3 separate regions of the Homo sapiens genome follow, and regions 1 and 2 are each linked to region 3. The links are contacts of gene promoters, found by promoter capture Hi-C in human tissues and cell types (Jung and others, 2019). All regions are on one chromosome and are shown on one strand. Each heading gives the region's core, a stretch centred on a gene start or on the middle of the fragment in contact. The rest is flanking DNA. Distances are from core to core; before and after follow the strand shown.

What was found. Contacts are between HindIII fragments. The study calls those that stand out against the background at their distance.
Region 1: a fragment that was not itself captured here is called in contact with the fragment with the promoter of GCSH in region 3 in 1 of the 25 tissues and cell types used here (dorsolateral prefrontal cortex).
Region 2: a fragment that was not itself captured here is called in contact with the fragment with the promoter of GCSH in region 3 in 2 of the 25 tissues and cell types used here (dorsolateral prefrontal cortex and mesenchymal stem cells).

The regions. Positions count from the first base shown.
Region 1 is chr16:81,700,860-81,704,282 of GRCh38, forward strand. CMIP (c-Maf inducing protein) reads left to right here. Exons shown (of 21, transcript NM_198390.3): 16 at 801-941; 17 at 1,763-1,810; 18 at 3,080-3,226. Among named protein-coding and RNA genes, the nearest start is that of PLCG2, 77 kb to the right of the region's middle. The HindIII fragment of the contact is 8,091 bases long and covers 1-3,423 here.
Region 2 is chr16:81,622,958-81,626,631 of GRCh38, forward strand. The region is part of intron 3 of CMIP (c-Maf inducing protein); the gene reads left to right. Among named protein-coding and RNA genes, the nearest start is that of MIR6504, 13 kb to the left of the region's middle. RefSeq lists enhancers at 471-540, 3,055-3,244 and a silencer at 661-710. The HindIII fragment of the contact is 4,466 bases long and covers 1-3,674 here.
Region 3 is chr16:81,094,783-81,098,345 of GRCh38, forward strand. GCSH (glycine cleavage system protein H) reads right to left here and starts at 1,613. Exons shown (of 5, transcript NM_004483.5): 1 at 1,349-1,613. The coding sequence starts at 1,496. RefSeq lists silencers at 1,030-1,699, 1,850-1,949. The HindIII fragment of the contact is 10,346 bases long and covers 1-3,563 here.

The DNA.
Region 1 (3,423 bases), core at 227-2,726, 610 kb after region 3:
AGTTTGGATTTAATCTTGGCTGTCCTGTGACAGGGATTCGGAGGCCATGGGGGAGGGCTGAGCAGGGAGACAGGAGACAGGCAAGAGGCGCTGTGAGAAGCGTGGGCTGAGTGACCTGCTCCTTGGTGAGTGAGAAGTTCTAGAACTGAGCACCATGGCATGCACCTGTAGTTCCAGCAACTTGGGATGCTGAGGTAGGAGGATCACTTGAGCCCAGGAGGTTGAAACTAGCCTGGGCAACATAGCAAGACCTCATCTCAAAAAAAAAAAAAATCGTCATTGGAAAGGGAATGTCAGAGGCAGGGCTGTCAGGCGTGTTGACCCCCAGGCCGAAGAGCCACATGTGCAGTCATGAGGCCCTCTAGGAAGCTGTGTGGTAGATGGGCCCAGGGCTCTGAGCCATTCCGTGAGTTTGAGCACCTACTTCATGACAGCCACTGGGGAAGGAACTGGGGAGAGAGAGGTGTCTTAACTTCTGGCCTTTCCACCAGTGCTCAGGGGCCTGCAAACATCCCCCGGGGGCCTGCCCCATGTCCAGACACCGCACGGTAAGCAGATGCCTGGGAGACTCCCATGTCCATTGACATTTGAACCTGGAGAACCTCAGTGCGTGGTCACTGGTGCTACCATTGTACAAGCAGGAAGTTGGGCAGGTGATTTGCCCAGGCTTACACAGCCGGGGCTGCAGAAAGGGGATAGTGGGGTTGCTGGTTTTCAAAACAAGGCCCTTGGGGTGCACAGAGTGTGCTGAGCTAGGGTGGCAGGCCGGGTCCGTAATGCACCCCTGCGGTTCTGGACAGATCCTGTGCTTGATGCTGGAATACAACATCATCGACAACAACGACACCCAACTGCAGATCATCTCAACCCTGGAGAGCACAGACGTGGGGAAGCGCATGTACGAGCAGCTGTGTGACCGGCAGCGGGAGCTGAAGGAGCTGGTGAGTCCCCGGCTGCTCCGGACCACTCCCCTGCCCAGCAGGCCAGGGGGGGCCAGGGCGGGATGCGGGGCAGCTAGTACTTGGACCTGAGTGGACCTCAATCTCGTTGAATTCTCCTCCAAACCCCAGAAATTGGTATTACCACCTGCCACTTTTCAGGTAATCAAAGAGAAGCAAAGCAATCCCCAGAGTCACACAGCTCATTGGGGCCTGGCCAGGACATTGCCCACCCTCCCTCCTCCATGTCCCTTAGACCCTTCCATTTCAGTACATGGGGGACCCAACTTCCAAATGCCAGCACCCACACCTCTTTGCTGAAGGACTTTGTATGTCCACATGCATATACTCACACATGTGTACACAGAAGGACGGAAGGGGCAGGAAATTCATGCCTTCTGATCTCCTGGAGCAGCCCTCAACCAGTCCCTTCTGGGGAGAGTGTGTAGAAATACCCCAGCTCCCTCACCCCTTCAGTGAGATATGTTTGAGACATGGCTTCTCCACCATTTCTTAGAGTCCCCCGGTGGGATTTGGTGCCAGTACCCACCCAGTGATAGCTGGATTGATAACACCCCTTCCATTATAGGTAGCCACAGTGTCACTTCCCCACTCTCCCACTGGTGTTTCTTGGGATCACCCTCCAGTAAACCACCTGTGCTCAAACCTCATCTCCGGGTTTGCCCCTGAGACCAAGACCACCGTGTTGCCTTGTACCACCAAGAAAATAACGATGGCTCCATGAGTGTTGTTAACAGAGGTGGAAGTCTAGAATGGAAACTTGGGGAAAAGAATGGTTGTAACCAGCCTGGTTTCTGTTGCAGCAAAGGAAAGGCGGGCCCACCAGGCTAACACTGCCCTCCAAGTCCACAGTGAGTTGGTTTGGTTCTCTTTGGGGCTGGATGGAGAAGGTGGGTTGGTCCTCTCTGTTGGGGAACGGCAGGTGGTGTCTGCTGCTGAGATGGGAGGTGATGGAGGGCGGGGCACAAGGACCCCCTAGTACTTAACACGCCAGCTCTTCCAGGAGGTAGCTGGGTTACAGGAAGAGAAATGAAAACCAAAAAGGAAGTTAAAATATGATACAGATTGTTGGTGATAATAGTGTTGATATCTAGTTATTAATAGTACTTGGAATAATAGCAGATATACCTTGAGCATTTGTGTGTCAGATGCTCTTCTATTAGTTTGTTTTATCCTCACAGCAACCCTTGGAAGCTTGTGTATCTTACCATTCGCATTTCACAAGGTCTTTAAGGGTCTTATTTCCTTCTATTCTGATGCCCCCATTATATTTGACACATGGCTTCTACTTCCTGGACCAAAAGGGCTGCTCAGGCTCCAGACCTCTTGTCTCCATTCCAGCCAGCAGGAAGGAGAACGTGCCCCTTCCTCTTAAGAAACTTCCTGGAAGTTCTACTTGACATGTCTACTTACATCCCATTTTCCAGATTTAGTGTGTGGGGCCACACACTAAATCAGCCTTCATTCCGGGCAGCCACAGGGCCGCTGACACTCAAGGATGGAGGGGAGTGTGGAGGTTGTCTTAGGAACCTCCCAGTCCGGTGCTCAGGCATGCGCTGGTGTCTTCAGGCATTAGAGTTGAGTGTGGCCTCAGTGTTGGCATGAGCTGCTGCCCAGGAGTGAGGCAGCCAGTCACACACCCTGATGCACAGACACAGACACACAGAGACACACCAACACACACACACACAAATATACACAGACGTGCACAGACACACACATGTACAGACACATGCATACACAAACGTGCACACAGACACACACAGATATACACACATACAGGCACACACACACAGACACACACACACACAGACGCCTGTGGGAGGATCGTGGCCTTGGAACACCCCGCTGGTGCCTCAGGGTGTGAGTCACAGCACTGGAGGCTTTCTCCTCCGCCTGGCAGCTGTCGTCCATGGGATGCGTGGCAGCCCCTCCCTCTCTGGCCACCCCCTTGGCCCATCCCACCGAGCTGTGCCCCCATCTCAGCTCCTGGGATTTACCGCCCCCCAGGAACAGCTCTCTGTAGGGCGAGGGGAGAGGAGGAGGATAGGGGATAGGAGGGCTCAGGGTCTCGGGAACTCCCAGCAGCACCCTCAGGCCTCTCCCCCGTCTGCCCGCAGGACGCTGACTTGGCTCGTTTGCTGAGCTCCGGCTCCTTCGGAAACCTGGAGAACCTCAGTTTGGCCTTCACCAATGTAACCAGTGCCTGCGCCGAGCACCTCATCAAACTGCCTTCGCTCAAGCAGCTGAACCTGTGGTCCACTCAGGTACGTCCTCCCGCCCTGCTGCAGTCCCCCACACCCTCCTCCTTCACCTCTGCACTCTCCTCCCTATTCCCCCGTACCATCTTCCTTTCCCCTCAGCCTCCTCCCTGCCCCCTCCCCCTCCTTCCTGCCCCCTCCCCCTCCTCCCTGCCCCCCTTACTCTCCTCCCTGCCCCTTCACCCTCCTCCCTGCTCCCCTCA
Region 2 (3,674 bases), core at 588-3,087, 530 kb after region 3:
CTTTGGGAGGCCAAAGCAGGCGGGTAGTCTAACTCAGGAGTTCAAGACCAGCCTGGGCAGCATGGCAAAATGCCATCTGTACCAAAAATACAAAAAATTAGCCGGGCGTAGTGGTGCGCCCATGTGGTCCCAGCTACTTGGGAGGCTGAGGTGGGAGGATCACTTGAGCCCAGGAGATGGAGGTTGTAGTGAGCCAAGATTGGTCCACTGCACTCCAACCTGAGTGATAGAGTGAGACCCCCATGCCCCACCCCAAAAATGTTAAGGTTTGCATGTGGGATTCAGACAGTTGATTGAGCAAGTCCAGAACTGGGATCACTGTGTTTCTAGCAGCTCTCATGAAGACCTGGATGTTTGCATTCAATTATGGTGGCATCCGGTTTATTTATGGTTGCTAAATTTAATCAAGCAGTTTAAAAAATTTTCAGAAAACCTAAATCAGGATGTCAAGGAACTGGCAGATGCCTGGGTGTGTGCTGGCCCACTTGCCAGGTGATCAATGGTAGTCTTTGCTCTCAGGGTGTAAGCTTTGGCTGTGTCTACAGCATGCTTCAGACACAGTGTTTCTCCTTGGACAATTGCCCCCCAATAATTTAGGTATGCTGCCACCAGGTGGCAGTGATATTTCAGTGTTGGCAACTTGATCTCAATTCCTGTGGCTCTTTGTACCCAGTTTTGGTGATATTTGAGAAGGCATGCTCTCCTTCCTTTTAAAATGGCAAAGAAACGTAAGGTGTTTTGGAGGTACCGCCAGCTAGCCAAATTAGCTGGGAAACGTGAATTTGGATCCTGGTTCTGTGGGCAGATTCCAGAAAGTGTTCACCTAATACAGATGCAGTTACTGAGTACATGTGAGATGCCAGGGCTGGCTAGGTCATTTCTGGTTCATTGTCGTTAAGCAGGTAATAGAACCAAGGCTCAGAGAGATCAAGTGACTTGCCTACAGTTGCCCAGCAGATTTCAATCCAGATCTGTGGGGCTGTCCTACCTCCTCCTTGATCACACCGTGCTTTTCTCTGAGATTGGGACTCCACAGCCCTCCCAGGACATAACCCCTCTGCTTCTGCTGATACAGCCACTCTCTCTCCCCTCTTTATTTACAACCACCTATTTGAGGTTTTTCTTTTTCTTTTCCTTCCTTGTTTCTTTTCTCTTTTCTCTGTCTTTAACTGAAAAAAAAAAAAAATCAGTGGAACATCAAAATTGAGGACCTTTAGAAATTCCACCACCTCAGCTTGAATTTTTTAACTCTCTTTTGTTTTTATTATTATACTTTAAGTTTTAGGGTACGTGTGCACAACGTGCAGGTTTGTTACATATGTATATATGTGCCATGTTGGTGTGCTGCACCCATTAACTTGTCATTTAACGTTAGGTATATCTCCTAATGCTATCTTGTTTTTGTCATTTTCTCTCCTACACCAATATACATTTGTCTCCTGTGGCTGCGGTGCACATACTGTCAGAATACGTTCTCCTGTATGTAAAGAATGCCACTTCCAGCCTGGGCGAAAGTGCGAGACTCCGTCTCAAAAAAAAAAAAAAAAAATGCCACCTCCTAAATACTGTGTCCCCATTGCTTAGTTTTGATCAAGTTGGACTTGCATCTCTAGGCCATTCCCAACAGGGGCAGCATCACCCCTAATGGGACCAAAATTGGTTCCTTGACACTTAAACAAATCTTAATGATTACAATAGTCTGTGGCCCTCCAAAGCTCGACCCTATTCAATGAAATCTTATTCTTGAGTATTTCTTCCAAAGGGAGGACAGATGAGGGAGACACTAGGGTTCCTTATGGGGACAGTCATGATAACAGGGTCGATTGACAACCGCTGCTATGGAATTGACCTCAAATTGTTTTGTGGAAGAAGGCAAATATCCAGGTCATCTTGGTCACGCTTTTCCGTCTGGGTAACAGTGTTGTTTTTGTGGCATCAGCTCAGAACTTTGAGCTGTTCACACACGGTTGTAGCTCCCATGTTGGAGGAGTTTGCTCGGCAATGGACACTGCATTTTGTGAATTACTTCCTCTCACTGAATAGGTTCTGTTCTTATCAACATTTGCAGATGGGGAAACCTGAGTGTAGAGAGGATAAGTCAGTCGCACAAGGTTCCAAGGCCACCAAGAAGGCAAGCGGGATTAGACCCTGAACATCTTTGCCTCTTTCTCTGAGCAGCTCTGCTCTTCCTCCCAGCCCTCCCGGCCTGGCCTCTGCCATGTTGGTCTGGGAGATCTGAGGAGGCCTGGAGCCTGCAGGAGGAGGGCCAGGATCTCCCAGCCCATGGCTGCTCCACCTCCCAGCATTCGCTAGAGCAGAAGCTGCAGTCCTGAGGGCCCCTGGGGAGGCCAGCCCTGTTTGGTTTGGGTGGTTCAGCCCTTGAGGCTAATTCCCAGGGGTGTGGAAGCATTAAATAGTTATTCTGGGTTAATGAGGCTTCATTTCTGACTCAGATGTACCTCCTGGCTCATGCCCTGGCCCTCAGAGGCCAAGCCCTGTGGTGACAGGCCTGTCTGCACATGAGGCTGTGAGGGCACAGGCCTGTGTGCACACGAGGCCATGAAGGCCCAGTCTGTGGGGCAAGGCCAAGAGCGTGTTCAGGCTGTGAGGGGACCGTGTGTGTTTACAAAGCATTGAGAAGATTGGCCTGTTTCTGTGTCCAGGGTTTCAAGGTGAGAGACCCAGGTATGCACAGCTGTGAGGGACAAGTCTGTCCATGTGAACAGGCCCAGGTGACAGGTCCAGGCTACTGGGCTGTGAGGAGACACACACCAGGCTCCTAGAGGAGCCCCGAGAAGCCAGGATGCACCTGCTATGGGAGCTGGAGCTCCTGGTGCCTCTCCACCTTCTCGCTTCCTGAGAGGGGTTCCTCAGGCCGAGGCACACTAGTCCTGGAAACCAAGATGGTTTTTCCCCAGGGGAAGTGAGGTCACTCAGAACAGCCCCAGGGGCCAAGCCCCAGAGCCGGGGACCAATGAGCAGACTGTGTGTCACAAGAAGCTGGCCTGTATTCCTGTCCCAGGGCTGCCAGGGCCAGAGGAGTGCCCTTGGCTCTGGGAAAATCCCAGCCCAGCTTTGGATCCTTTCTGGCTGCCTGCCCTGGCCACGCTGCCTTCTTCTTGCTGGGCAGGTTTCCCAGCCCCCTAGGGTGGCCACAGCCCCTCGATCACCGCATCCAGGCCCAGGCCTCTGTCCCTCCTCTGTGGAGAAAGGTGGAAAAGAATGTGGGGTGTGTGAGTGTGAGAGTGAGTGTGTGTGCGCGTGAGAATGTGTGTAAGAGTGAATGTGTGAGTGTGTGTGAGAGCGAGAGTGACTGAGTGTGACTGTGTGTTGTGTGGGGTGACTATTTTATGAGTGTGGTGAGGTGACTGGTGTGTCTGTGTGTGGTGTGTGAGGTGACTGTTTTGAGTATGTGTGGTGACTATTTTATGAGTGTGTGTGGCGTGTGGGGTGACTATGAGTGTGTGTGGGGTGTGGGATGACTATCTTATGAGTGTGTGTGTGTATGTGTGGCATGTGGGGTGACTTTTATGAATGTGTGGGGTGACTGAGCATGTGTGTGTGTGGTGTGTGGGGTGACTATGGGTGTGCATGTGTGTGTGGTGTGTGGGTGGCTTATGAGTGTGTGAGTGGTGTGTGGGGTGACGGTGTGCGTGTGTGTGTGGTGTGTGGGT
Region 3 (3,563 bases), core at 363-2,862:
GTATCAAACATTTGGGCGTAAAGAAAATTGTTGGCCTGGCGCGGTGACGCACGACTGTAATCTCAGCACTTTGGGAGGCTGAGGCGGGTGGATCACTTGAGGTCAGGAGTTTGAGACCAGCCTAACGTGGCGAAACCCTGTCTCTACTAAAAATACAAAACTCAGCTGGAGGTGGTGACGGGCGCCAGTGAACCCAGCTACTCGGGAGGCTGAGGCAAGAGAATCGCTTGAATCTGGGAGGTGGCGCTTGCAGTGAGCCGAGATCACGCCGCTGCACTCCAGCCTGGGCGACAGAGCGAGGCTCCGTCTCAATAAAAAGAAAAAAAAAAAAAAAGAAAATTGTTTTTCCCCTGCAATAATTGTGCTGAAGTAGCACAAATGGCCGAAACATTCATGGGCAGGTTTCCCAGTTATTTCAAGTCCGTTTGAGTTAGGGCTCATTTCAGCAAGCACACACATGAATGATCCAATACAAACTTTAGCAGAACTTCTGTTGAGTCCAGAAGACTTTATCTTACTTGTTTTGGGGAAATAGCTGAATCTTCAAAGTTATGATTGTTTTATCTAGTAAAAAAATCTAGATCTGGCGCTTTAATTTTTTTTTTTTTTTTTTTTTTTGAGGTGGAGTTTTGCTCTGTCGCCCAGGCTGGAGTGCAGTGGCGCGATCTCGGCTCACTGCAACCTCTGCCTCCCAGGTTCAAGCGATTCTCCTGCCTCAGCCTCCCGAGTAGCTGGGATTACATGCGCATGCCGCCACGCCTGGCTAATTTTTTGTACTTTTAGTAGAGATGGGATTTCACCGTGTTAGCCAGGATAGTCTCGATCTCCTGACCTCGTGATCCGCCCTCCGGCATGAGCCAACGCGCCCTGCCTGGTGCTTTAATTTTAATAAGCGCTTCTGTTTTAATTTTACTTCGGAGTTCTCAGTAACGGTCCATTTAGTAAACTAAAGGCCTCCCCATTTGGGGTCTCAACGATGCACGCAGATGGGAGATAAACTTAAGGCCACCGAGACGCTTAAGCGACACGTGCCTGGCTTCTGCAGCAAGCGGCCGACCTGCCCGCCGGACCCGCCGGGCCACCCCCGCCTCGGTGTCCCGCAGGCCTCCCCTCCCGGCTGCATGCAATCCCTAGGGCAAAGGCTACTCGCGGGTCCTCCCGCTACTTAAGGGGGAGAAGCGGCCGCAGAGCCAGGGATCCCAACAGAAATAAGAAGGGGGCAGGGTCCGCGCTCGCTCCGCCCCGGTGGCTCAGGAGCGGTGCCCCGGCGTCCTCCGTGTCCCGCTGGGCCCGGGACAAGCAGCCCAGGCGGGGAGGGAGCAGCCGCCCACGTGCCCGCCGCGCTTACCCGAGAGCAGAGCGGGTCCAGTGCGCAGCGTACGGACGGCGCCCACCCCCAGCTGCCAGGGCCTCGGCGGGCAGGGCGCGGCGGGTGACGGGACCGCGCGCAGGGTGCAGAGCAGGGCCCGCACGCTCCGCACCACTCGCAGCGCCATGTTCGCAGGGGTGCGGGGGTCGCAGCGCTACGCCTCGGCCACCCGCGCCGGGAGGCGGGGCGGGGAGGGGCAGTTCGCGGCCGGAGGGAGCCGGCTGGATGGAGGCGCGGAGGCGGTGCCGCGGGGGCGGGACAGAGCCTGACTGGGCAGAGCGTGGAGGGCGGAGACTCCCAGGCGAGGGGGCGAGGCAGGGTCTGATTGGCCAGCACGCGGAGACTGGGGACTCCAGGGCCTGGCGCGACCTCGGATACGGCGACGCGAAAGAGGGGCGTGGGCATGGGGAAGAACCTGAGGCCCGGAAGAGGCAGCACCGAGAGGCGGAGACTAGCGCGGCGGGCCTGGGTATGATTGGGCTGCCCGCAGGAGGGGGGCGGGGCCTAGCCCCAGACTGGGTTCCTTTCCACATGTGTATCTCTTTTACTGCCTCTGTCATAAGTTTTCAAAGGTGGTTTCACCACCTCACGAAGGAATTCAAGAACAAGTCGGAAAGTCGTGAAAGTACAGAGGTTTACTGCAAAGTACACACTGAAGAAAGGGCGGACTCAAAAGAGGGCCACACAATGGGGCTTGGGGTTTCCATCTTTATGGGTTTCTTTGAGAAATGGAATATACACAAAGGTTTCTGGAATAAGGTGGAGACTTGTCAGAACTGTGGTGCCACCCATTTTTACACCAAATATGGGTGTTCCCGGAATTGTTGTGGTGCCGGTGGGTGTGTGACTTAGTATGTTAATGAGTCCTAGGTGAAGCCTAGGTCAAAGCCACACCACGTTGGGTCCAGTTGGTTTTAGCCAGGTTGACCCACACCCTGGTTTTTCAGGGTCTTAGCCCATAGCTTGTGCAGCTATTTCAACAGTTTCCTTTTGTTAGACAGAACTGCAGCCTGGAAGTTTCTATTCTCCTTCAACTGCTCTGTAACGTTCCTGTCTCAAAGAGCCCCAGGGACCCCAAACAGGACCGGCAGAATCCAGAAGCTTACTTAAAAAGGAATAAAGACTTGTCCAAGGGTCATAAGTGGCTTCTTGGTGGAGACTGGACCCAAGCCAGTCACTAATGCAGAAATATTCAAAACGCAGAGAGCTGAGACCCAGTGTGCACAATTCCTTGTTTCATCGGCCAGCGGTGTGACCAAGGCCTTCCGAGAAAAGCCGAAGTCATCATCCCAATCCAAGAAGTCAGAAAAAAATTAGGTTCTGGGAAAAACCTCACCTTTAACACAGATTTTATGGAGTGGCCATGAGTCAGCAAAGAAATACTGTTCTGAAAAACACCTTAAGCTACACACACACCTTTAGTACTGTTACAGAAAGGGCTCCCAATCCAGACCCCAAGAGAGGGTTTTTGGACCTCATGCAAGAAAGAATTTGGGGAGAGTCTATAAAGTGAAAGCACGTTTAATAGAGAAGTAAAGAAAAAAAAGAATGGCTTCTTCGTAGACAGAGCAGCAGTATGGCTTCTCGACTAAGTGTACTTATAGTTATTTCTTGATTGTATGCTAAACAAGGGGTGGATCATTCAAGAGTTCTCCAGAAAAGGGGCAGGGATTTCCTAGAACTAACGGTTCCTCCGCTTTTTGGACTATAGGGTAACTTCTCTGGACGTTGCCATTGCATTTGTGAACTGTCATGACGCTGGTGGGAGTTGTTTTTTTTTTAACATGCTAATGCATTATAATTAGCGTATAATGAGCAGTGAGACCTACCAGAGGTCGCCATCTTGGTTTTGGTGAGTTTTGGCCAGCTCCTTTACCGCATCCTATTTTATCAGCAGGGACTTTGTGACCTGTATCTTGTGCCAACCCTAGCTCATCCTGTGACTAAGTGAGGCAGGTGAATCACTTGAGGTCAGGAGTTCGAGACCAACCTGGCCAACATGGAGAAACCCCCGTCTCTACTACAAATCCAAAGTTTAGCCAGGCATGGTGGCAGGTGCCTGTAATCCCAGCTACTCAGGAGGCTGAGGCACGAGAATCACTTGAGCCTGGGAGGCAGAGGTTGCAGTGAGTCGAGATCACGCCACTGCACTCCAGCCTGGGTGACAGAGCGAGACTCTGCTTCAGAAAAAAAT